Regions from separate parts of the Homo sapiens genome. Here regions 1, 2, 3, 4, 5 and 6 are each linked to region 7. The links are contacts of gene promoters, found by promoter capture Hi-C in blood cells and fetal thymus (Javierre and others, 2016). All regions are on one chromosome and are shown on one strand. The core of a region is centred on a gene start or on the middle of the fragment in contact, and the rest is flanking DNA. Distances in the headings are between cores, read along the strand shown.

Evidence for each region. The method cuts DNA at HindIII sites, captures the fragments that hold promoters and counts their contacts. A CHiCAGO score of 5 or more calls a contact.
Region 1: a contact is called between a fragment that was not itself captured here and the fragment with the promoter of OXA1L in region 7, in 5 of 17 cell types (M1 macrophages, megakaryocytes, erythroblasts and 2 more). The highest score is 7.2, in M1 macrophages.
Region 2: a fragment that was not itself captured here is called in contact with the fragment with the promoter of OXA1L in region 7 in 3 of 17 cell types (M1 macrophages, endothelial precursors and M0 macrophages); the score reaches 6.0 in M1 macrophages.
Region 3: a fragment that was not itself captured here is called in contact with the fragment with the promoter of OXA1L in region 7 in 1 of 17 cell types (monocytes); the score reaches 5.2 in monocytes.
Region 4: a fragment that was not itself captured here is called in contact with the fragment with the promoter of OXA1L in region 7 in 5 of 17 cell types (M1 macrophages, megakaryocytes, M2 macrophages and 2 more); the score reaches 7.6 in M1 macrophages.
Region 5: a fragment that was not itself captured here is called in contact with the fragment with the promoter of OXA1L in region 7 in 10 of 17 cell types (megakaryocytes, M1 macrophages, M2 macrophages and 7 more); the score reaches 16.3 in megakaryocytes.
Region 6: a contact is called between a fragment that was not itself captured here and the fragment with the promoter of OXA1L in region 7, in 2 of 17 cell types (endothelial precursors and M1 macrophages). The highest score is 5.7, in endothelial precursors.

Annotation. Positions count from the first base shown.
Region 1 is chr14:22,582,336-22,586,068 of GRCh38, reverse strand. All of the region lies in intron 1 of DAD1 (defender against cell death 1), which reads left to right. Among named protein-coding and RNA genes, the nearest start is that of DAD1, 5.0 kb to the left of the region's middle. RefSeq lists an enhancer at 3,273-3,733. The HindIII fragment of the contact is 4,923 bases long and covers 1-3,733 here.
Region 2 is chr14:22,519,574-22,523,060 of GRCh38, reverse strand. It overlaps TRA, TRAJ24, TRAJ23 and TRAJ22. Among named protein-coding and RNA genes, the nearest start is that of LINC02332, 36 kb to the left of the region's middle. The HindIII fragment of the contact is 1,839 bases long and covers 786-2,624 here.
Region 3 is chr14:22,907,249-22,910,977 of GRCh38, reverse strand. RBM23 (RNA binding motif protein 23) reads left to right here. Exons shown (of 14, transcript NM_001077351.2): 3 at 1,383-1,495; 4 at 2,598-2,645. Among named protein-coding and RNA genes, the nearest start is that of RBM23, 10 kb to the left of the region's middle. The HindIII fragment of the contact is 3,239 bases long and covers 1-3,041 here.
Region 4 is chr14:22,541,744-22,545,508 of GRCh38, reverse strand. It overlaps TRA, TRAJ4, TRAJ3, TRAJ2 and TRAJ1. Among named protein-coding and RNA genes, the nearest start is that of LINC02332, 13 kb to the left of the region's middle. The HindIII fragment of the contact is 3,702 bases long and covers 282-3,765 here.
Region 5 is chr14:22,561,806-22,565,603 of GRCh38, reverse strand. DAD1 (defender against cell death 1) reads left to right here. Exons shown (of 3, transcript NM_001344.4): 3 at 467-697. Among named protein-coding and RNA genes, the nearest start is that of LINC02332, 6.6 kb to the right of the region's middle. RefSeq lists an enhancer at 3,614-3,693. The HindIII fragment of the contact is 384 bases long and covers 1,427-1,810 here.
Region 6 is chr14:22,621,351-22,624,811 of GRCh38, reverse strand. No RefSeq gene overlaps it. Among named protein-coding and RNA genes, the nearest start is that of OR6J1, 21 kb to the left of the region's middle. The HindIII fragment of the contact is 2,566 bases long and covers 13-2,578 here.
Region 7 is chr14:22,764,979-22,768,725 of GRCh38, reverse strand. OXA1L (OXA1L mitochondrial inner membrane insertase) reads right to left here and starts at 2,038. Exons shown (of 10, transcript NM_005015.5): 1 at 1,962-2,038; 2 at 1,317-1,478; 3 at 555-768. The coding sequence starts at 2,024. OXA1L-DT (OXA1L divergent transcript) reads left to right here and starts at 2,164. Exons shown (of 3, transcript XR_001750638.3): 1 at 2,164-2,302. RefSeq lists enhancers at 1,930-2,159, 1,753-2,316, 2,317-2,879, 2,880-3,443. The HindIII fragment of the contact is 1,636 bases long and covers 912-2,547 here.

The sequences.
Region 1 (3,733 bases), core at 1,056-3,555, 180 kb after region 7:
ACGTCCAGCTAAGTTTTTGTATTTTTAGTGGAGACAGGGTTTCATCGTGTTAGCCAGGATGGTCTTGATCTCCTGACCTCGTGATTCGCCCGCCTCGGCCTCCTAAAGTGTTGGGATTACAGGCGTGAGCCACCACACCCGGCACTGAGGGTGCTTTTTTAAAGAAAGGAAAAGATTTAAAATTGGTGTTAGCATGTAGGATGAATTGGAGGGAAATGTTCTTTAATCTTCTCTATTTTTTTTTGGCAGTCTATTCTCTTCTATTCCCTCTGCATGTGTTAGTTTAGCATATGCTCTTTGGAAATTGACCAGTACATTTTAAACCAATTCAGAACGCTACCAAACCTTTAAAAAACCTGTTGTTATTGGGCCTGATGGTATGAAAATAGTCTGTTTTCTTCTATTCCCTCATAGCTGAGAGACTTAACCATGGTTTCAAGAAGGAACCAGAGGTAGAAAGTTGTCATTGAGAGATCTTTTTTTGTGTGTGTTTTGGATCATCAGAGTATAATATATTGGCTTTAAAAGGACCTCAGAGGTAGAATATTTTTCTATTTGAGACAGATTTCAAACATCCAGTAGCTGACTGTTTATCTTGTAGTTAGATATCTCTAGAAGAGGACATCTGTCCCTTTTTTAGAGTTATATTCCAGTGTTGGCAACCCTTTAGTTTCCTTTTTTGCCCAACTGAAAGCTGTGCTCATTTAAAGTGCTATTTAGGAGGGATAAGTAGAAAACATTAAGACTGTCCTCAAAATAAGTCTTTGGTCTTGAAACAAGTTTTAATTCATTTCCCAACTTTCATCTGTTCTGTTCTCTAATCTATATGAGGTAATTTTGTCTTAAAAAATAGTTTTGTTTTTCCTAGTTTACAAATTCAAAACCAGTTTGAATCTGTAAGGCAAGGAGGCCTAGTCCAGAGTTTTCTGTCTCACGGGAGCTATTAGGCTGTTGTGGACTGGGGTCCAGCATTTCTTTTGGAATTATCCATCAGATCTGTGGATCCTAATATTATCTCTCATAACTGTTATCCGAGAGATTAGAAGTTTGCCACCCATGTGCCTGATAGTCTTGTTTCTAAATATCTTTCATATCATTGCTACTTTTTCATCCTCTGTTTTAGCCTCTCAATATCTCTTATGAAGACTACTGTAATCCTCCTTACTGGCCTTCCGGCCTCTGGTTTCCAGTCCATCTTCTATTGTGTTTGCAGGCTTGATTTGACTTGCAAATCTGATTGTGTCACTCCCATGTACAATTTGTGTTTCCCAAAGTAAAATTAAAACTTTTTTTTTGACATACAGGCTCTTTCATGATCTGGCTTCCTCGCTGTCTGCAGCTTCATCTCTTGCCTCTGCCTCCTCTATACTCTGCTCCAACAGTATTGAGCTACTTGTCATTCTCTGAACACTCTCATGTGTCAAACTATTTGCCTTTGCTTGACTGCCTTCAAAATTCCTTCACTTTTTAGACTTCTCAGCTCAAGTGCAATTTCCTTTTTTTTTTGTTACTGTTTTTAAAGAGAACAAGGTCTTGCTATGTTGCCCAGGCTGGCCTCAAACTCCTTGGCTCAAGCAGTCCTGCCTCAGCCTCCTGAGTAGCTAGGACTATAGGCACACAGCACTATGCCTGGCTTATTGCCCTTTGGAACCCTTCCCTGACTCTCCAGCAGATTGAGGTCTTTCCTCTGTATTCCTTTTTCACCTTGTATGTGTGTGTGTGAGAGAGATATGGCATTGTGCTGTATTTGGGTGTCTGCCTTCTCTCTGGAAGGTGAGCCCTTGAGGGCAGGGGCTGTCTTCTCATCTCTCCATCCTCAGTGCTGAACACTGTATATGTTAAATGGTGAGCAGGCCTATAGTCATGTCAGGAATAGTGAGCAATGATGTGCTAGGTTCTCTGCCAAGGTGCTGGGAATTCAACTGTGAAGCACACAGACGTGGCTTCTACTCTCACAGAGTTTGTAATTAGTGGGAAATACAGACAAGTAAATATGGATATGGTGCTGATGGAGAATTATTGGTGAGAATGGGAACACAATGTGCATCCAACCCTGCCTAGTGGTCCTGCAATAATATTTCTCTTATACATTCGCCTTCCTAAAGTAGGCTTCATAAATCACTCTATTTTTCCTCTTTTCCTTTATTCTTAGTTGGTGATCTTGCTTTTATTTTTTCACTAAAAAAAAGAAGTAGATAAGAATTCCTTCATCTTTTCACCACTGAATCATAACAGATCACCTACTTTTATACCCATACTCTCTGACTTCTCATGGTGGATGATGTGTCTCTTTCCTGTGAAAGCTCTGCTTGTGCAGAGGATCCAGTCTTCCCTTGCTCACTCAGGGACTCCGCTTCTGCAATTATTCCTCTGTTCCGTGTCATTAATTTCTGTTTCTCTCCTGGATCATTCCCATCATACAAACATGTTCTAATATTGTCTATTTAAAAAAAATCCGTTTGACCACAGATAATCTTCTAGCTACCATCCCATTTCCTTTCCATCATTACAGAATTTCTTGAAAGAATAATTAATGTTCCTACTTCCTCCCTTAACTATTCATTCCTTAACCCACTCTTGGTATTGGTCTGTCCTCACTACTTCACTGAATTACTTCACTGAAACTACTCTTGCCATGTTGCAACGTTTAGCATTTAATGTAGGTATTGGCTTCTGTGTAAAAGGAAAGTTTTTTCTTGAATACAACACTCTCCTGCTTGTTCTGTCTCACCTCACTGCTTTTTCCTTTCTGCTGTTTTGTGCTGGGCGCTTCTCTGACTGAGAGCATGGTTGTAGATACCTTCACTTTGTATTTTTTTTTAAATAGATAAACTTAAATAACACCTGTATACCTACAACTACTCCTTTATATTTTTAGTTTTGAACTGTCCCCCGAATTCCAAATTAGTAAATCCAGTTGCCAACTTGATGTCTTCACTTGATGTCTGATATGTACCTTGAACTTAACATGTCCAAGATCAAACCTGCTCATCCAGCCATCTGCCTCTTCACCAGTTAGTACGTGGTGTCAATGTTGGTTGTGGTTTTTTTTTTTTTTTTTTTGAGACATAGTCTCACTCTGTCACCCAGGCTGGAGTGCAGTGGCACAATCTCGGCTCACTGCAACCTCCATCTCCCGGGTTTAAGCAATTCTCCTGCCTCAGCCTCCTGAGTAGCTGGGATTACAGGCACGCTCCCCCATGCCCGGCTAATTTTTGTATTTTTAGTAGAGACGAGGTTTCGCCATGTTGGCCAGGCTGGTCACGAACTCCTGACCTCAGGTGATTCACCCACCTCGGCCTCCCAAAGTGCTGGGATTACAGGTGTGAGCCGCCATGCCCGGCCGGTTGTGTTTTTAAATGAAGAAATTTAAGTTTCCGGGGTCCCTTGATTTCTCTTATCTCCTGCATCTGTTTCATCAGCAAGCTCTGTCTTCTCCAAAATATAGCCTGTATGTCTTTATTTCTGTCCATTTTTACTACCATTCCCCTGAGCTCTTTGGGTCCTAAGTAATTCTTCTGCTTCTTTTTATTTTTTATATTTTTGAGACGGAGTCTCGCTCTGTTGCCCAGGCTGGAGTGCAGTGGCGCGATTTCGGCTCACTGCAAGCTCCGCCTCCCGGGTTCACGCCATTCTCCTGCCTCAGCCTCCCGAGTAGCTGGGACTACAGGCACCCGCCACAATGACCGGCTAATTTTTTTTTTTTTTTTGTATTTTTTAGTGGAGATGGGTC
Region 2 (3,487 bases), core at 456-2,955, 250 kb after region 7:
TCTAATAAGATCACTATAGCCTCTCTGTGACAGTACCTACATTATACAACCATGTATATTTTAGCATCCACATTGACACTCTCCTCCCAGACCCCACAGTCAAACTGTACATTTTGGCTTTTTTTTTTTTTTTGCTTCCTGCTTGCATATTCCCTTCAGAAAAAAAGAAACAAAGCAAAAGAAAAAAAAAGAGCCTGCAGTGTTAGTTGTCATTTGCAAGTCTAGATGAAACATTATTTATGGGTAAAATATTTTGCTGGCAATTTCAAGAGAAAAGAAACCTTAGTGCCAACAGTTAGACGCCCACACAGTTTGGAGTTAAACAGATCTCAACAAATGAACACAGTTATGAGAAGTAACACAGAAGTGACTTCAATCTAAGCCAAGTAATTATAATACTCATGCAATTTTGGAGGGCCAGGGGCTTACTTGTTCTCACTTGTAGAAATGATAAGCAATGTGTTACAGCAATGCTTTGCTGGAAGGGCACCAGAGAGCTATAGAAATAGAGCCTCATTTAAATATCTTAAATATAGGCACCTCTATGTTTAAAGACTTATTTAGAAATAGCTACTAGAATAGGCTAAAAATGTAAGTGACCAACTAGACTTGGTGTGAGACAGTTTTTGTAGCACGTAGGCTGGTCCTAGTGCAAATATTTTCAGAAGCAGAGGTTCCCCTTATGGAATCTGTTCCCATTATTCAGCAATTCTTCTAAGTTAAAATGAAATTTTTTTCTATTCATTTTCATTAACTCCTATTACTAAAAGCCTTAGCAAAAAGCTTCTCTTTCTCTTCTTGGTCTCTGATAAATAATTCTCTGCTCGCATTACCCTTTCTAGTATGCATTGTTGCTGTCTCTCCCCATCTTCAACCTCAGGCCCATTAAGTTACATGTACAGAATACATTTGTAGATTAGTAAATCAGTGCAAATAGTATTTAATTGAGGCAGCCTACCAGGTAAAACAGTCAATTGTGTCCCAGATCCAAAGGTCAGTTGCCTTGCAGAACCAGAAGAAACACTATGATTTGCTCAACAACAAAAACCAGATCAAACAGGCCAGGTTGGCAAAGCACTGAATAAAGAGCTGGCAGTGCTTCCTTTATGAATTAGGCCTGCATCACTGTTAATCTAGGTTTGGTCTGGAGTAGCCAAACTGACTTTCTACAAATCCTAAACTAACCCTCCTTCGTCTTTACAATCCCATTTTCTTTTAGGGGACCTTTGCTTTCCACTTTCCACTACAAAGTTCTAAACATTAACTGTGTATTTTCGATATATGTATAGAGCAAATACTCTCTGATTTTAGGTGTCAAAACAGCACTTGAATCTTTTCATCCAAGGAGACTCACAAAGTCCAGAATAGAGAATACGCCTCCTCTGTTGTGGGCATCACTGGATTATGTCATCAGAGAACTGTCTGAATTCTTGAATCCTCCTGAGACTGAGTCTATAGAATCAAAGTGAGGTAGGTACAGAGCTGGCATTGTCCAGTTAATTTGGCCACTCATTTCACACTGATAAAATAACTTTATAATAATCAATTATCAGACAAATTCCTAGTTTTCTACTTCACTTTTGGGCATTTCCCTTCTCCTGACTAAAGTGGTATGTGTGTTAGTTATCTGCTCAAGGACTTTAAACTGCAGCAAAAATTAGTTTTAGTATTTCCTAAGGAAGTGATGATAGTATAAGAGAGCCATGCCCAAGAGAAATCAGGGTAAGCATTGTCATATCTGGGAAGAAACATGGAATCCACCTCCAGAATGTAAGTTTCATGAAGGCAATATCACACTGAGTTTGCTTCCTGTTGGATCCCTGGTTTCAGCAACGAGCCTGGCAGAGGGCAAGTACATGAAAATATTTGTCAGATGAATCTTGCGGACTCTTCAAACTTCAAGTTTGAGCCAACTGACAGGTTTGGCAAATTAGAGACCTAAAATCTAGTTCTAGCTCAGCCATAGACTGGCTGTGGGGCCGGGATCTGTCTCTTCCCTGAGCCTCAGTTTTCTCATCCATGGAGAAAGTCAAAAAGGAATGTTGTCAAGGTTCTCTCTGCTCCGTGAGGCTACGCTGTACGAATTTTTGGCTGAAAGTCTCAGAAACAGGAAGTGTCCCTCAGTAGTCATGAGTAAACTTTTTAAAAAAAAGTGGTTTTTCAGACTTTGAGAGAGACTAATCACATTACTTTTGGTTAATGATCATTATTTACAAGGTTCTTTCCTTCTATAAATTGACATAATCTTAGCCAAATAGAATAGTGCCTTAGAAGGTTTGTTAAGGAATTAGAAATCTTGTCACCAATTACTGCACAAATCCAGGGATATGATCCCAGCCAATACAACAAGTAGCCAGTCATACATTTTAGTCCCAACACATATATTCAGGAGCAATTCCCAGAGGCACACTTACATAGCCCATTTTGCACTGAGATGCTAGATCCTAGCCAGGACGACGATTGGCTTCCTATTTGATGCTCATCCCCCTCTCTAAACATTCTTCATATGGTGTATAATTGGGTCTAAATCAGCCCTTAATCCACAGACATTGCTTAATCCAGGGATACAATTTTATACTTACTGGGTTTCACAGATAACTCCGTTCCCTGTCCGAAGATAAGCTTTCCTCCCTGGTTATAAATCACACTGTGTTACATATCCTGTCAAAAACACATCCAGTCTGCCTGAACACATTTCTAATCCTCCACCCCCAAATCCACAGCAGATTGCTCCCACACCACAGCATGAATCATGGCTATCCTGCTTATTGTAACTTTTTTCCTTATAAGGGAAATAAGGGTATTCACACAGGAGACTGATAGAGAATAATGAGAATTACTATTTATCCAAAAACGTTTCTATTTAACACCAGTCTGATCTCTCATTTTTGCTTAATGGCTTTGGGTACTGCTGTTCAGGGAAATGGCTTCCTTTCAGATGTGTTTCTCATAGTCTCGGCTAGAAATATTTGGCATGCAGGGCATGCCAAATACTAAGGGCAGGTGAGGCTCCAGGGAATGGGGCTTACCTGGGGTGACCACAACCTGGGTCCCTGCTCCAAACTGGAATTTCCCCCAGCTGTCAGTTGTCACACTGTGACAAACACCTCTACAAAATGGCTTCCCCAGAGAAGACAGCTGCTGAATGAAGACAAACTGCTCATGGGGAAACAATCTTGCTACAAAATGAGGCAACTGCATGATATGAGATATAAGCTTTTCCCCCTTTCTCTTTTAATTTCTCTTCTTTCAAGACACTAAGGATGGTGTGTGCCAAGAGCTGCACCTCCTGGGCGGCAAGGGCAGAAAGCCAGACTGCTGGGGTCAGTGAAGCCTGGGCGTCCGCTTTAGATGCTGCAGGGATAGAAACCCACCAGCCTAGGCGTTTACTCAAGGTCAGACCCAGTCCTCAGCACTACTCAAATGACAGCTGATCACAACGGTTGCCCTGTCATTTAAATAACTTGGTGTTTTGAGTTCACGAGCC
Region 3 (3,729 bases), core at 173-2,672, 140 kb before region 7:
GTGCAGTGGCACAATCTTGGCTCACTGCAACCTCCGCCTCCTGGGTTCAAGCCATTCTCATGCCTCAGCGTCCCAAGTAGCTAGGATTATAGGCAAGCACCACCATGCCCAGCTAATTTTTGTATTTTTAGTAGAGACGGGGTTTCACCATGTTGGCCAGGATGGTCTTGATCTCCTGACCTTATGATCCACCCACCTTGGCCTTCCAAAGTAATGGGATTACAGGCGTGAGCCACTGCGCCCGTCCCAGTTTCTTTTTTAATATATTTTTTATAGAGACAGGGTCTTGCTATGTTGCCTGGGCTGGTCTCGAGCTCCCAGGCTCAAGCGATCTGCCTTGGCCTCCCAAAGTGCTGGGATTACAGGAGTGAGCCACTGCACCTGGCCCACTTAACAGCAATTTGCTTGCTTGCTTGCTTGCTTTTCCCTCCCTCTGCCCTCTCCTCCCATCCCTCCCTCCTTCTCCCTTCCTTTCCCCCCCACCGCTTTCTTTTTTCCTTTCTTTTTTTTTTTTTTTTTTTTTTTTTGAGATGAAGTTTCACTCATTGCCCAGGCTGGAGTGCAGTGGCGCGTTCTCAGCTCACCACAACCTCTGCCTCCGGGTTCAGGCGATTCTCCTGCCTCCCAAGTAGCTGGGATTACAGGCATGTGCCACCACCCCTGGCTAATTTTGTCTTTTTAGTGGAGATGGTTTCTCCATGTTGGTCAGGCTGGTCTGGAACTCCTGACCTCAGGTGACCCGCCTGCCTTGGCCTCCCAAAGTGCTGGGATTATAGGTGTGAGCCACTGCGCCCAGCCTCTTTTTTTTTTTTTTTTTTTTTTTTTTGAGACAGAGTCTCACTAGGCTGCCCAGGCTGGAGTGCAGTGGTACAATCCCAGTTACTGCAACCTTTGCCTCCCAGATTCAAATGATTCTCCTGCCTCAGCCTCCCAAGTAGCTGGGACTACAGGCGTGTGCCACTATGCCTGGCTAATTTTTGTATTTTTAGTAGAGATGGGGTTTCGACATGTCGGCGAGGCTGGTCTCAAACTCCTGGCCTCAATTGATCCGCCTGCCTCAGCCTTTAAAAGTGCTGGGATTACAGGCGTGAGCCACTGCCCCCAGCCTAGCACCAATTTGTAACTCTCCTGGGAAATGTTAGTGGAGCAGATGTTGGGTAACTGAAGTTTGACATCAAAATCTGTCATGCTGATCTCTTCCTTTTAGGTAGTTTCCTTGATTCCTTTCTTACTCCCTTTGTTAGGAAATAAGGGTGCTGAAAATCTGGCTAGATAATCAAGTGGTTTGATTTATTCCTTGTCCACCTTTGTTCCCTTTGCCCATTGGAATCTGTGTGTCTGCCACCTTATACCTTGTGACATTTTCCTGGTGAATGCCTCAGGATGAGCAACAAAGGAAAGAAGTTAAAAAGGATTATCCTAGCAATACCACCAGCAGCACCAGCAACAGTGGCAATGAGACCAGTGGAAGCAGCACCATCGGGGAGACAAGCAAGTGAGTGTGGGAGGAAGAAATGGGTTGGCAACTTGGGGAAGGGAAACAGTTTTGTCCATTGGAAAAATAACCAGAATAGGGAGATTGTTTCTGTTAAGACTGCTGACTGTTAGTAATGGCTCCACCTAGGTCATGAGAATAATGGTGACTTGATTTAATTATCTAGTCTTCATTTTCCAGTGTAGATTTGTGGATTAGTCCTAGCATCAATATACTTCATTTGAATAAAATACCAAGAGGGGCTGGGCGTGGTGGCTCACACCTGTAATCCCAGCACTTTGGGAGGCCGAGGTGGGTGGATCACCTGAGGTCAGGAGTTCGAGACCAGATTGACCAACATGGTGAAACCCCGTCTCTACTAAAAATACAAAAATTAGCTGGGCGCGGTGGCAGGCTCCTGTAATCCCAGCTACTCAGGAGGCTGAGGCAGGAGAATTGCTTGAACATGGGAGGCAGAGGTTGTAGTGAGCCGAGGTCGCACCATCGCACTCCAGCCTGGGAAACAGAGTGAGACTCTGTCTCAAAAAAAAAAAAAATAGCAAGAGGACCCCTGATTTGGAAACACCAGGTTTTGCTTCGCATTAGGGGGAAAAATGGCCTCTTCAGATGCCTGACAGCTTTCAGGGCTGTAAGTTGGTATTGTGCAATTGCTGTGAACCACTGCTGGATCATCTTCGGGTCTTTGGTTTTTTCATGCTTTCTGTTTCATTCTGGCCTTACTGTAATTCCTTTTCTTTGGCAGCAATAACGAAACCTTCTCTTTAAGAATTTACACTCCTGACCTGGCGCGGTGCTCACGCGGGGCTCATGCATGTAATCCCAGCACTTTGGGAGGCTGAGGCAGGTGGATCACTTGAGGCCAGGGGTTCAAGATGAACCTGGCCAACATAGCGAAACCTTGTCTCTACTAAAAATATAAAAAATTAGCTGGGCATGATGGTACATGCCTGTAATCCCAGCTACTCAGGAGGCTAAGGCATGAGGATCGCTTGAACCTGGAAGGCGGAGGTTGCAGTGAGCCAAGATTGCACCACTGCACGACAGAGCGAGATTCTTTCTCAAAATTAAAAAAAAAAAAAGAAGAATGTACTCTCTTTCACAGGAAGAAGAGGAGTCGGAGCCATAATAAAAGCAGGGATAGAAAGCGCAGGTCAGTAATTCTGGGCCAGGCACAGTGGCTCGTATCTTTAATCCTAGCACTTTGGAAGCCAAGGCGGGAGGATCACTTCAGGCCAGGAGTTCAAAACCAGCCTGGGCAACATAGCAAAATCCTGTCTCTACAAAAAATTTAAAAATTACCCAGGTGTAGTAGTACATGTTTGTACTCCCAGCTACTTGGGAGGCTAAGGCTGGAGGATTGCTTGGGCCCAGGAGTTCGAGGTTGCAGTGAGCCGAGATTGCAGCACTAAACTCCTGCCTGGGCAACAGATGGAGAACCTGTCTCAAAAAAAATAAAAATAAAAATAAAAAATTGAAACATTTAGCTTAAAACACAAACACATTGTACAACTCTACAAGTTTTCTTTATGTCCTTATTCTATAAGCTTTTTTCTATTTTTAAATTTTTTTGTCTTTTACTTTTTAAACATTATTGTTATTGTTGAAAACTACGACACAAAGACACATGAGCCTAGGCCTGCAGAGGGTCTTTCACCTCCACATCTTGTCCCACTGGAAGGTCTTCAAGGGCATTAATACACATAGAGTTGTACTCTGCTGTAACAGTGCTTTCTTTAGGAGCACCTTCTGAAGGACCAGCCTAAGGCTGTTTTATAGTTAACCGAAGTAGAAGTAATATATTCTAGAATGATAAATATAGTAAATACATGAATCAGTGACATCATTACTTTTTATCGTGAAGTATATACTGTACGTAATTGTTTTATTTTTAAACAATTTTTAATTGATACATATTGTATGTAGTTTCTGGTATGTGTGAAATTTAATACATATAATTTGTAAAGATCAAATCAGTGTACTTGAGTTATCCTTGACCTAAATGTTTATCTTTTCATGATGCTAGGAAACATTCAAATTATTCTCTACTAGCTATTTTGAAATGTATAATAGATTATTGTACACTGTAGTAATAACCCTACTGATTTGTTGAACACTGGGTCTTATTTTTTCTTTTTTTTTTGAGACCGAGTTTCGCTTTTGTTGCCCAGGCTGGAATGCAATGGCGTGATCTTGGCTCACCGCAACCTCTGCCTCCCAGGTTCAAGTGATTCTCC
Region 4 (3,765 bases), core at 883-3,382, 220 kb after region 7:
CTAGTTCAACCTTATCTCTTTGCCGCTTTTAATTTGGAGGTGTTTAGGGGTCTGTCTGCCAGAGTCCTTTGGGGAGAGACATCCTATTCTACCCTAGTAAGAAAAACACATCCCATCACTGATGATATCAGAAGGTAGGCTTGGCAAGACGGAACCAATGTTTTGAGGTGGAAATTCAGCTATTCTAGATCCTAAGCTGTCCTTTAAATTCAAAATGAACTGCAGAAGCACATGTGCTCTAGTGCTTTAGATCCCTAGGGACACAGCAGTGATTGAAAGCTTCCTTACCATTAAATCTGTCCCCCGTGTTTGGGCACTAGGGACCCAGAAATCAGAATTAGTGACAGTCACTCTGGGTCCCACCGAGGCTTTAGTGAGCATCAGGAAACTGTGGGCATGGGCAGACGTACGGGGAGAAGTGGAAACTCTGGTTCCTTTGCCAAATTGCAACTGGGAGGTAATACTTTCATACCATGCCCCGTGTCTCTATTACAGAATCCCTTAGGTTTCTCCTCCTCTAAGGTGTGGGATGACCCCTCTCAGAGCCCACTGAGGAAGGAGAGGGGAGGTCTGCGGCACCATAGCTGGCTGCTCTCACCTTCACTTCTAGTCTGCATCTCTAAATCGGATTCTCAGTTTCCCAATGGCTGGCCCTGGCCCTAATTTCTGTATTCTGTTGAATGCTCTAGTATTTCCTTTTTCCATGCCTAAAAAGACATCTTCTCTGACTACTTTTCAACCAATTTTATTATCAGATGTATACTTAGGCTACTTTGCATGTGCCTTGATTATTCCCAAGATCATGCCTTCTTTCTTGTCGTTCCCTACGCCCAGAACTTCCCTTCTCTCCTTTCTCTGCCCATACAGATCTTATCCATCCTTCAGGGCTCAATGAATCCTTTGTACCACAGGAAACTTCTCAGTCTAGGCCAACTTCTCAGCCAGCACCCTATCCCCTCTGAATCTCTATTGTGTCCATTGACATCATCAACTGGTCAATACTAAAATAGTTTTCTGGCTGCTTAATTTACAATAGTTCAGTACCTTTGTCTAGTTTTTATACCACTTGAGGACAGGACAGGAATCTATCTCACACTTCATACTCAGTCTAACATTTTATAGAGTGATAGTCACATAGAAGGCATTTTACAATACCCATTGAATGATTAAAGTCAAATTTTAATGTGTTTGACCTAGAGAAACATGAATATTCAAGATAGATAGTAATGCTTTTCCCTTCCCAGACCTCTGTAAGAAAATTAGTTACAACATCTACAGCAAGCCTCACCATAGTAATAAGTGATATCTCCAGAGAAAGGATTAGTGACACTGGCCCATGGGGTTGCACGTGGTGCCACCTGGGATGACTCACCAGATATAATGAATACATGGGTCCCTTTCCCAAATGTGAGTTTATCAATTGTTCCTCCAGTATTCATACCGTAGGTGACACCATTGCACAAACTCACAGGACCTACCTATTACTTAAATAAGAGAAACACTGATCTCCCCCACAAGGCAGGAGAACAGGATAATCACACTCCTAAGGGTTAGACCTTCTTTTTTTTTTTTTTTTTTGTTTTTTTGAGAAGGAGTCTTGCTCTGTTGCCCAGGCTGGAGTGCAATGATGCGATCTCAGCTCACTGCAATCTCTGCCTCCCGGGTTCAACAATTCTCCTGCCTCAGTCTCCCGAGTAGCTGAGACTACAGGCGCGTGCCATCACGCCCGGCTAATTTTTGTATTTTTAGTAGAGATAGGGTTTCACTGTGTTAGCCAGGATGGTCTTGATCTCCTGACCTTGTGATCTCCCTGCCTCGGCCTCCCAAAGTGCTAGGATTACAGGCGTGAGCCACCACGCCAGGCCTAAACCTTCTGCTCTTTTGCACTGAAATTTCGCTTCTGATACAAAAGTTCTCCTCCTGTTCCATTCTGCTGTGATTCCCTGGGCTGAGGTTGTGACTTCATATGATTTCAATAAACCAATAATTCCCTAGAACAAAAACCTCAATTCCAGGCAGCAGTATCTTGGATATGTTTGTGGAAGGTTCAGGAGTACTCGCTCATTGCCTGCCTCATGGTTCCTAAGGTCCCAGCCTAAGGATGATGTCTGCAGAGCACCGAGAGCTGGATGGGAGGATTTTCTGGGGATGGGTGGAAGAAACCATTTTGGAGCCCACAGAGGAAAATACCTGGGTTCAAGTTGGCATTTTGGACAAAGAAGAAATAGTTGTCCGTCCTCCCTTGCTCTCCTGCTTCATTCTACTTACTTGGCCGGATGCTGAGTCTGGTCCCTGATCCAAAGATTATCTTGGAAGCACTGCTGTACCCCCACTGTGGGTAAGGTCTTTGAGATAACCTTCTTGATGCTAATCTGCTGGAAGCCACTGGGGTCCCAGAGCAACATTCTAAAAGGCTCCTTGGGTCTTTGTTGCTTACATCTTTTATTTCCCAAGGAAGCGATTCTCCTTTCCCTTTATGATAGTGTAAACCTTAGTATAAGCAAAGCCTCAATAATAATAATTATAATAATATTTTAGAAAAGCTACTACTTATTGATCACTTTTTACATTCTGGCCATTATCTCATATTATTATGATGTAGTTATAGTCATTTTGCTGCTGAGAAAGTGGAGGCTTTATTGAAAACAGCCAGTGAGAGTAGAGCCCAGATTTTCCCCAGGTCTGTGGGCCTCCCTCTACATTGCTGCCTCTATACCTTGTAATTGCATGTGGTATACTTGCCGTTCAGTTAGGGGTCTGGGCCACTTTTACCCTTAGGAGGAAGCTGAAAACTCTCCTAACTCCAGAGAGGAAGATTCTATGAGTAGGGATCCCCATACCATGTTTATTAGCCAATCCAGGGAATTTAGCTACATGCTGCAATAAAAGAGAATTTGTGTTTGCCATTAACTCATCTCTTTCCCCCAAGGGCACTTAGCTAATTTCCTGAATGTTCAGATTATCTGGTGCCGATATTATCAGCTTCACTTGAAAGCACTCATTATTTGGAACTCTTTTTATGTTTCTATAAATTATTCTGCTCAGATTTTCATTTACGCAATTGGCTCTTGGCACTTCTGTGTTTCATATGAGAAATGGGAACATTTTAAGTCACCAAGAGAGCTTGTAGGAATGGAAAATGAGTGCTTCTCAATATATCCCCAAGTTTGCTATAGATCATCACCTGTTTTCTCATAGACAAGTGGTCAGTTCTTTTTGCACTGGTCACTTGCAGGGTCATACTCACATGGGTGTACAGCCAGCCTGGTCCCTGCTCCAAAAATCAGCTTATTGTAGCCACCAGAAAACACACAATCAGATGGTGCTTTACAAGAACTCTGACCTGGGCAGGGCATGCCTGGCTGGGGCACTCCATCTCCTGTCCCTGTTTTCCAGGCTCCCCCAAGTCAAACTTTCTCTGACAAGAGAGAAAAGTCTCACCTACCAGGTCTTCATTCCACCTACTCACTCCTGAAGATGCATCAGAGGCCTCATTGATGCTGATTATTTCTTTCTAATCATCACGAAATAGCTTCATTTTATTTTGGCAATTGTTGAACACCTATGCAACTGTGCAGCAAATGCTCCAGCCACTGTCGGAACAGCTCCGGGGCAGATTAGTTGCAGGCGTCAACATGCAGGATCTACGATGCCCCAACACTTTGCAGGGTTTCCCTACTAGAAACAATGGCAACTTTAATGCCTTATTCCAAATGTGAATTTTTGGTCTTCTTTGTACACACCTTTCTAACACAACTTGGAGCT
Region 5 (3,798 bases), core at 369-2,868, 200 kb after region 7:
ATTGGGAATTTTTCTTTCTTTCTTGAATCCTTACTTCCCTACCCTGCCTCCCCACCAATGGAAATCTGTGCTTCATAAGCATTTTAGATTCCAGAAAGCTCTTTAGGTTAAACTACAACCCTCTCACCTCAAAGAATTTGTGGGCCAGGGAAGTCAGTGACTTATGTGAAGTCTTGCGGCTAATTAATGGTAGAGCTGGAGTTAGGACACATGTCTCACAGTTCCTAGTTCGTTTTGCTTTGATGTGCTTGAAATTCAGTTTTGACATTAATTTTTCTGGATACTACTCCCATAAAATGTTCTTTGAAAAATACTTGCTTCTTTCTAGTTTTTCTCGCCTGGTTTAAATATTGTCCTGAGTGTGGGAACCCCATAACTGTCTTGTGGGTTAGAATTTAGATGGAAGGATTTGGGGCCCTGTCTCTAGTATCATAAGACATTTAACCTTGCTGCTTTTTTCTTCTAGGTTCACTCTTTGAATTTCCTGGATAAGAGTTCTGGAGATGGCAGCTTATTGGACACATGGATTTTCTTCAGATTTGCACTTACTGCTAGCTCTGCTTTTTATGCAGGAGAAAAGCCCAGAGTTCACTGTGTGTCAGAACAACTTTCTAACAAACATTTATTAATCCAGCCTCTGCCTTTCATTAAATGTAACCTTTTGCCTTCCAAATTAAAGAACTCCATGCCACTCCTCCATATGCCTCTGGCTCTGTTTTTATTCTTTGCTGGTATCAGAATCCTTTTTTTCTCTTCAGTCCTCTGTGCTGAACTCTTTATGAGTTGGTAACTTACAGCTGTGAACCTGCCTCCTTGTTTTCATTAAGTATATTTGAAGTTAATGGCAAAAGGCAGTGCTGACAACCCTGGGAAATGGCAGTCCTTTGTCTTCTTCCTGGAGCAGGTAATCCTTTACTAATCCTTCGATTGTTACAGGTGCTTCCACTCTTATGACAGTGCATTCCTGGAACTGCATCATTATGCACTCTGCTAGAAATTGAACTAAGTATGTGCTACCACATTTACATCTGTTTCAACATGTTTTAGTGGTAAAAGTGAAATATATTTCTCTTAGGCAATGTAGACAGAGTGAAAAATGGGGGTTATGTATGTGTTGACTTATAAGATACAATATTTTCCAAAGCACCTTCACAAATATTCTCTCATTTTATTCTTGCAATTATCTTAGGGGTTCCTGTCCTCATTAGTTAGGTGAAGAAATTGAAACTCAGATTTGTGACTTGCTTAAGATCAGAGTTCATGACAAAGCTTGGATGGAATGTAGGTCTGCTGGCTGAAGTCTGTCATGTTCGCAGCCCTGTTTTCATCTTGGGTGCTGTTGGGTTGCTATATATGGGGCGGAAGCTATGTTGAGAATGCCACTACTTAAATTTAGCCAACTACCGAGAATGATGAGTTTCAAGCTTCTCCAACTTGGCTGCACGTTAGCATGACTTGGGTAATGTAAAAAGAAAATCCCAACGTCCAGGCCACAACCCACACCAATTAAGTAAAAATCTCTTGGGGTGGCTTCTGTAGTTTGTAAAGCTACCCAGGTGATTCCAGAGCACAGCAAATTGGAGAAACACTGCTCTGGATTCTTGCTACTCAAAATGTAGTCATTGACTACCAGTATTGGCATCGCCTGGGAGCACAGGCCTCACCCCAAACCTACAGAAGCAACATCTTCATTTTAACAAGGTCCTCCGGTGATTTATGTGCACAATAAGATTTGAGAATCTCTCATCTACAGCAGTGGTTCTCAAAGTTTGGCATGTCTCAAGATTACCTAGGAACTTGGTGAAAAGCTTGGGCCTGTATGTTTCTTATTAGCTCTCTGCCTAACTGGTAACACACTGAGTCAGGAGTCCGCAAGCTTTTCCTTAAACAAATGGGCATGGCTATATTCCACTATCACTTTATTTATAAAAATTGGTTGTGGCTATGTGGGTCATGGTTTGCCATTCTTAAGTGATACTAGTTCATTGAGATTATAACTGAGCAGTTTAATCTGCACTTTTTTTTTTCTTTTTTGTTTTTGTGAGATGGAGTTTTGCTCTCGTTACCCAGGCTGGAGTGCAATGGTGTGATCTCGGCTCACTGCAACCTCCGCCTCCTGGGTTCAAGCAATTCTCCCACCCCAGCCTCCCGAGTAGCTGGGATTATAGGTGCACACCAACATGCCCGGCTAATTTTTGTATTTTTAGTAGAGACAGGGTTTCTCCATGTTGGTCAGGCTGGTCTCAAACTCCTGACCTCAGGTGATCTGCCCGCCTCAGCCTCCCAAAGTGCTGGGATTATAGGCGTGAGCCACTGTGCCTGGCCTAATCTGTTCTAAAACTTATATACAGATGTCACAGACCCTATCAGGAGGCTTCTGGATAATTTTTAGTCTAGAGAAATTGGAATTTTGAATAAGAAAAGCATCTGGACTTTGAGACACGGGTTGAAAACTGGGAATAATAGTAATTTTATGAAGGAAGACATTGTAATTGCAGTCTTTAATACATAGGTTTTGTTTAATTTTTCATAATGATCTTGAGATACATGGGACAGGTATTAAATTCCCATTTACCAGGTCAGCTATTGTCTCAGAGGTTGTGATTTACCCAAGCCAGTTACCATCAACAGGAAACATTCTTCTTTGGTGTGTCTTTTCAATATTTGCTTCGGGGCTAAAACCTACAGACTGCTTTTGGAGTGTTGGGATTAGATTTAGTTAAAGGCTCATTATAGGTAACTCTTGTTTTTATGCTTCTGTTGATTTGCTTTATGGTTCTCAATTTGACATGTACTGAAGAATTAGCTGTGGACCTGTGAGTAGCCGCTGCACTCCAGCCTGGGCAACAATGTAAGACCCTGTTCTTAAAAGAGGCCAGGCATGGTGGTTCATGCCTGTAAATCCCAGCACTTTGGGAGGCCGAGGTGGGTGGATCACCTGAGGTCAGGAGACCAGCCTGACCAATATGATGAAACCCTGTCTCTACTAAAAATACAAAAATTAGCCAGGCGTGGTGGCATGAGCCTGTAATCCCAGCTACTCAGGAGTCTGAGACAGGAGAATTGCTAGAACCTGGTAGGCGGAGGTTGCAGTGAGCCGAGATTGTGCCATTGCACTCCACCCTGGGCAACAGAAGCGAAACTTCATCACAAAAAGAAAAAAAAAAAAGACAACACTGAAAAAGCGCCAGGTGCTCAGTGGCTTACACCTGTAATCCCAGAACTTTGGGAGGCCAAGGTGGAAGAATGGCTTGAACCCAGGAGTTCAAGACCAGCCTGGGCAACACAGTGAGTCCCTGTCTCTACAAAAATTAAAAAAATTAGCTGGGCGTGGCAGTGCACCTCTGTAGTCCCAGCTACTCGGGAGGCTGAGTTTGGAGAGTCACTTGATCCCAGGAGGTAGAGACTGCATGATTGCACCACTGCGCTTCAGTCTGGGCAACAGAACAAGACCCTGTCTTGAACTTAAAGACACACCCCCAAGCCCCATTGCGTTTCTGATTCTTAGGTGTTTTTTCAGCTGAAGTATGTTGAAGGAGTTGATTTTGAGTACTACTGCATGGAGAGTGAGGTAGACCCTAGCATTTCCTGCTCCCCCTTGCTCAACACCTCTATGGGGTGGTTTATTTTTATTTTCTGTGCTCTTTTATGGGGCCGGAAGCCATTCACCACAAACACTGTGGAAAGTCTATTCCCTGCCATTCTTTGCAGTGGTGGGAAGCCCAGCCCTGAGCACCTCCTGCCCACACATTTCCTGGCCCCTATCACATGGAAACCATCTCTCTTGTTTTCTTCTCT
Region 6 (3,461 bases), core at 46-2,545, 140 kb after region 7:
AAAAAAAAAGCTTCATTTTGCAAACCCTTCAATCCTGCAATCTTACCTCAAGGAAGGAAATAATTGGTCAAATATGCAAATATGTACGTACAAGGGACTTAGCGCACATTGTTTATAACATACAAATATTTGGAAGCAATTTAAAGTCCAAGAACAGAGAAGCAGGTAAATGAACTATAGTAAATCCAGACAGTGGAAGAAGATGCAACAGTTAAAAATGATGATATATTTCTATGGATTCTATATTTATTGGTATAGAAAGAGATTTATAACAATAAGGTTAAAAATTTTTATAAAGCACTTTGTTAGTATGCTCTCATTCTAGTAAATATACATTTATGTATATAATAACATATATATCATCTGAAAGAATATATTCCAATGTATTTAACATGGTTATTTGTGGGTAGTATAATTATAGATTTTTTAAAAAGTGTTTTTAATTTTGTCTTATTTTTGTACAATTAAAAATTTTTGTTTACATTTAAAAAAAGGAAAAATGTTCTCAGAATTGAACCCAACACTCAAATCAGGTTACAGTGAAACCATTGAGTCCCCCAATCAATGCAGGGAATGAGACCTAGCTTTCCATTAGCTTTTGGGGCAGCTTCATTCCTTTACTGCCATAAACAGAGCTTCTAGCCCACTAAAACCTTCACATCGGTTTAATCTTTTCACATCAACTGCCATTGCTTTACTAGTTTGGTTCATTTTTTTCTATCTTTTTTTTTTTTTTTTTTGGAGACATGGTCTGACTGTGTTGCCCAGGCTGTGGTGCAGTGGCACTCCATAGCTTCATAGCTCACTGCAGCCTTGAACTTCTGGGCTCAAGCAATCCTTCTGCCTCAGCCTCCCGAGTAGCTAGGACTACAGTCACATGCCACCATGCCCAGCTAATTAAATTTTTTATTTTTATTTTTACTTTTAGCTATGGAGTCTTGCCATATTGCCCAGGCTGGTCTTGAACTCCTGGGCTCAAGCGATCCTCCTGCCTCAGTCCCCTAAAGTGCTGGGATTACAGGCGTGAGCCACCACACTCGGCCGAGGTTCATTTTTCTCATGTGAAAGACTTGACATTCATCTCTGCCCACACTTTGATCATATCAGAAAACAACCTGTGCAGCCGCTTTCTGATTGCTGAAGCCGCTTCATTCTTCCTCAGCAGGACCCTTTGAGATACAATTGAAACTTCATGTTTGAGAATGCCCTGTCCCTTTTAAGCACTATAGATAATTTTCCTTGGAACATTCTGAAATCTGACTTCCTGAAATCTATAAAAATTACATCTGACAATCTTTTTTCAATATTCTAGTAAACGCAATTGTGAGTAGAGCAAGAATTTACTAGGTGCTCTGCTTCTGGCAGAAAGAGACTCATGTTAGTGTCCTGATTCTTGGAGACCTCTGGCACTACTGTAACTTGCTTTTGATGTTTGGCAGTCTGAACTAAGAAAGCAGCATCTGTGTCCTCCAATTATCTTAGTATCTATTTCTGTTTGTTTCTCCTTTTATCCCCATCCAAACATTTCCACCTTCAGTTCTGTGGTTTCCTTTTTGGCATACATGCTATTGTTGAGTCCCTTCAATTAGATTCACTTCCTCTGAACAGCGTTATCTTTCCACGGTCCCCTCCAGTCATGGGATCCACATGATTGACTTATCTATCTTCTTGTCATAAAATTCAAGTTCCTCTCCCACTCTGGTCTTCTGTAATATAGCCAGCACTCCCCAGACTTTAGGATTTTAATAATATTAATTACAAATACAGGAAAAAATTCTAAAATTGATATGTTTGGAAACAAAAAATGACATTCCCTCTCACCCCCAAACAATCGTAGAATATCAGCATCTTTTTATAAAATAACAATAGTTTAATCCTGAAAGGGTTAGAAAGGATATAATTTCAGAATTTAAAAATACTAAAAAAAAAAAGGCACTATTTTGTTATGAACCAGAAATACTTTATCATGGACCAGCTCCAGTCTGTGGATCTATGTAGGAAGCCACTGCTATAATATATGGTTTTGCAGTTACATTTGGACACTTTCCTTGAACATTTTAGAAAGTACATGATGCCCAGTTTTTGTGTTAGTTACCTCATAATTTATCAGAGGCCCATAAATCTATCATAAGTTGTGAGCCCTCTCAAAAATTCTTTTCCCAGACACAACACATGGTGTCAGCTGGTCAAACTGAGAAGATGAAAATATCACCTCTAACGCCATATCCTTCAGGATCCTTTTCAGCCACTAGCATGTCTCAGGATTCTTCTGGTTGTGTGTGATTTGTTCTCATATTGTTATAGTTTGGATATCTGACTCTTCAAATCTCATGTTGAAATTTGATCCCCAATGTTGAGATGGGGCCTAATGGGAGGTGTCTGGGTCATGGGGCAGATTCCTCATGAATGGCTTGGTGCTGTCTGTGTGGTTATGAGTGAGTTCTTGTTCTAGCAGTGCCTGGGAGAGATTGTTAAAACAAGCCTGGCACCTCACTTGTTTCTCTCTGGCCTGCGCTGCCTTGTCATGTGATCTCTGCACACTCCAGCTCCCCTTACCCTTCCAGCATGAGTGGAAGCTTCCTGAGGCCCTCACCAGAAGCAGATGCTGATGCCATGCTTCTTGTACAGCCTGCAGAACTGACAGGTTTTCTTTTCTTTATAAATTACCTGGCCTCAGGTATTCCTTTATAGCAGAAGAAACAGACTAAGACACATATATACCAACTAAAATATGTGGTTGCTGAATTATCACAAACTCTCCATTAGGCCTCAGAATATTCCAGGAAGAAGGAGCATCAGCCATCAGTAAGGTGAAGTCTACAGATCTCCTAGGCCTTTAGCAGAGTCACCAACCAAGATAATGGGGTCCTTGTGGGTTGGGGAACAGACTCTGTGCACCTGCTGACATCTGTTAATCCTCCTTAGTATTCTCTCCAGGAATGAGGAAGGTCTTTCCTCCTTAACCCTAGTGAAGAGTGATATTTAGCAGGATGATGACAAAGATCTGTCTAGCATAACAATGCTGAACTTATACTATGAAAAACACTTGGGGTGGAGCCAAGATGGCCGAATATGAACAGCTCCAGTCTACAGCTCCCAGCGTGAGAGACGCAGAAGACGGGTGATTTCCGCATTTCCAACTGAGGTACCAGGTTCATCTCACTGGGGAGTGTTGGATAGTGGGTGCAGGAGAGTGGGTGCAGCGTACCGAGCGTGAGCCGAAGCAGGGCAAGCCATCGCTTCACTTGGGAAGTGCAAGGGGTCAGGGAATTCCCTTTCCTAGTCAAAGAAAGAGGTGACAGACGGCACCTGGAAAATTGGGTCACTCCCACCCTAAAACTGTGCTTTTCCAATGGTCTTAGCAAACTGCACCCCAGGAGATTATATCCCGTGCCTGGCTTGGAGGGTCCTATGCCCACGGAGCCTCACTCATTGCTAGCACAGCAGTCTGAGATCAAACT
Region 7 (3,747 bases), core at 789-3,288:
GGAAGAAGATAGGATAGTAAGTGAAGGGGAACTAAGGATGAAGGGAAGAAACCTTCCCCCAGGTAACACATGGGTGTGCCTGAGCATGTTTACATGTTCGGGGTAGGGCAGTGAGGAGGGAAATGCTGAAGACACAGGGGAGAAAAGATAATTGATGGAGCAACGTGGCAGAAAGACACATAATTCAAAGCAGAGTTCTAGCCTTTACAAAAGCAATGCTAGTGGCTTCCCAATTTAGGGGTTTAAGTGCCTGACCTGAACCTCTGTTCTAAACCAGGATAGCTTCATGACTGTTAATAAGGTCCCCTGACTCTAACCCCATGTTTGTATTCAAATATCTACACTTCTTGAATCCCAGATGATCTGGTGGTTTTATAATGCTCTTTAAGAAATATAGGCAGAGTGCATCTAGGTATCATGAACCTCTATTGCTCATTTGAAATCATCTGCTCTTCTGACCCCAGAGCTTCTGCAACTACTTCCTGAATCCATTCAAAGAATTGCCATCTATGAGGTTAAATCCCTAACCCATGTCCAGGGTATATTCCCCTTACATGCAGCAATGGCCCCCCACCAAGGTAGGCCCAGATCAACATGCATAAATTCCAGTAAATTCTGGATCAGTCCCACTGGGGTGTATGACCCCAGCCCCAGTTCAGCGAAGCTCTGCTCTGCAGCAGTTTGGACTACATCTGCAGTCTCTCCAGAAGCCACCTCAGGTACTGCTGTGGGTGAGGGAGTTGCAGCAACAACAGGAGGGGCCTGAACCTGTGTGAAAGAAAGCCTTGTATTATATTTATTCAGTAGCGAACACAAAGCAAGTGAGATCTTTTTATAATAACCAGTACTGGGTTCTGTTCTCTCTACTTCTTGTTCTTCCAGGTTAGCCTAGTGTCTGCAGATTTCAAGCTTAAAAAGGACATCTCATTTTTATCAATAGTTAGGAAGAGAAGTTACTTTGAGTAAGAATCCATGACTTCCCTTCATGCTGGGAAGTTATTTCTTTTATCACTGTTTTCCAAACTTCAGCCATTTGAATATCACTATCATGATTTTTGCCATATATTAACATGAAACAATTGCTTTTCTTTAAAACAGCTCAGAAAACCAAATATAACATCTCTCCTGTTGTACTTTCAATCATTTCCCCACTGAATTGAAAATCCATCCTAAGCAGAGATGCTATCATTTTGGAGAGCTGTGTGGAGCGTGGACAAGAACTCTGCTCCATATTCCCCCTGCTCCCAAACAAAACAAAATATGAAACCAACCAGGAAACACCACTCCTAATATTGCAGGAACGAAAGGCCTCTTACCTGGACTTCTGCAAAAGAGATAGCAGAGGTACTGAGGCTGCGGGGGCCGGAAGCCGCAAGGAAGAGGTAGTGTGGGCGACAGCAGCACGGGGCTGCTGGGAATAGGAGCCGTGTGGTCAGCGGTTTCCCAAGCCATTGCGAGGGCCCTGCGACGCTGTGGACCTGAGCGTGTAAAAGGATGATGGAGCCCCTTTACCGGGAGCAGAAGTCCTCGCGTGGGTGCAAACGGGATTCATTATGCTAACTCCCCAAGAAGCAGGCAGCTCGGCCACTACAGGGGAGGACATTGCTATCACCGCGCGCAGACCGCTAGCCCGAAGGCATGCAGCGGGTGGTGCCTGCAGAGCGAAGCTCGAACCTGGGTTCCCCGCATCTCAGTTATCGCAGACCCACATCGGAGGGCCCTGAGAACGAGGCCGAGGTGCTCTCGCCAGGAGCCAAGCCAATTCCAGAAGCTGACACCGGGCTGCTGGGCCCATAGTGTCGGGGACTAACCCTAGCGCGTCCTCACATGACCCGAGGTCATGACATTCAGGTCCCGGTGAGCAGGTCAGCGTCTGCTGATACCCCTAGCACGAGCTGTCCTGGGGCCTGGTTCACTGGGTCAGGGCAGCATCCCGGTGCTCTGCCCCGGGGCATCCTTACCCGACGCCCGGACTGTAGCAAGCGCAGAAGCTCCCGGCGTCCGCACATTAGTCCCATCGCCATTTTGCCCGGAAGAGGACTTGCTTTTGCGCCTGCGCAGTAAGAACCACAACCCCTCGAGAGGAAGCACTTTTGGAGGCGGGCATGAAGCCAGAATTGTAGCCGCAGATCAGGCGGTAAAAGAGAACGGAGCTTGGCGGCCATATTTGAAGTGGGTAAAAATCTGTAAAGCCACGTTACCATTAGCACGCAGAGAGCCTTTTCTGGAGATTGAAAGGAAGTTGAAGAGCTGGGTTAGCTATCATCGTAAGCTATCATCGTTAGTGATGGCGTAAACCTGGGTAATTTTCCTCTAATGTCGCGATTGTCCTCTGATTTGTAAGTTTAAAAATAGCCTCAGAAAAGGCTTGGCTGTACTTGCAGAGGATTTTTCCCACTCAATGATGTTCGATTCTTTTGATTCTTATTGCTAGGTAATATTGTAATCGCAGGTCCAGTGAAATTTGAGGGTAGTCTAGAGTCTGACAGAAATTAAAAGAAGGCAGCTTCTGGGAAATATTTTCCTCCCAGATAAAAAGACGAAGCTTCCAGAGGAGACTTCACCTTTCCATTTTTTTCTTCTGTAAGTGGGGTGGTGTGAGGACTGACCATGAGGGGACAAGTTTCCAGATGAAAAGCTCACGTGCAGGCCGGGCGCGGTGGCTCAGGTCTGTAATCCCAGTACTTTGGGAGGCCGAGGTGGGTGGATCACGAGATCAGGAGGTCGAGACCATCCTGGCCAACATGGTGAAACCCCATTTCTACTAAAAATACAAAAATTAGCCGGGCGTGGTGGTGGGCGCCTGTAATCCCAGCTACTCGGGAGGCTGAGGCAGGAGAATCACTTGAACCCGGGATGCAGAGGTTGCAGTGAGCCGGGATTGTGCCACTGCACTCCAGCCTGGGCAACAAGAGCGAGACTCCGTCTCAAAAAAAAAAAAAAAAAGGAAAGAAAAACTCACGTGCTGAAGATGGTTGAGGGCAAAGATAGAAAACACCCAAATACTTGATGATATCATTGAGCTGCTGTACCATGCTTGGAACTGCCTATCTCCAGACTTTGTTGTGTAAGTTAATTAAAGGTCTTGGCCGGGTGCAGTGGCTCATACCTGTAATCTCATCACTTTGGGAGGCTGAGGTGGTCTCGATAACTAGGTCAAGAGATCGAGACCAGCCTGGCCAACATGGTGAAATCCTGTCTCTACTAAAAATACAAAAAACAAAAAAACAAAATAACTAGGCGGGCGTGGTGGTGCATACCTGTAGTCCCAGCTACTAGGGAGGCTGAGGCAGGAGAATCGCTTGAATCCGGGAGGTGGAGGTTGCAGTGAGCCGAGGTGGAGCCACCTCACTCTAGCCTGGGCGACAGACTCCATCTCAAAAAAAAAAAAAAAAAGATGATTAAAGGTCTTTACTGTTTAGACTCTAAGTCTGTTGCTTGGGTGTTCTGTTTCTTGAAGTTAAAAGCATTCATCTTCAGGGAAAAAAGTTACTGGTCAGAAAGGTGGAGTTTGATTATGTTTGAACCCTTACAAAGTCTCTCAATATGCAGATTACTTTCTAAACAACAAATTATAGTTTCAGAAAGATACAATAACCTGAAATTATTTCAGTGACTGCTCATTTGGAACGATTATGAATGTACCTGACAGATATGGCGAAAATAGGAGGCAAAGAACTATAATACTGATTTAGTAATAATTAGTGGTATGAGCTAACACTTGCATATGTTGGATGCTATTATAAA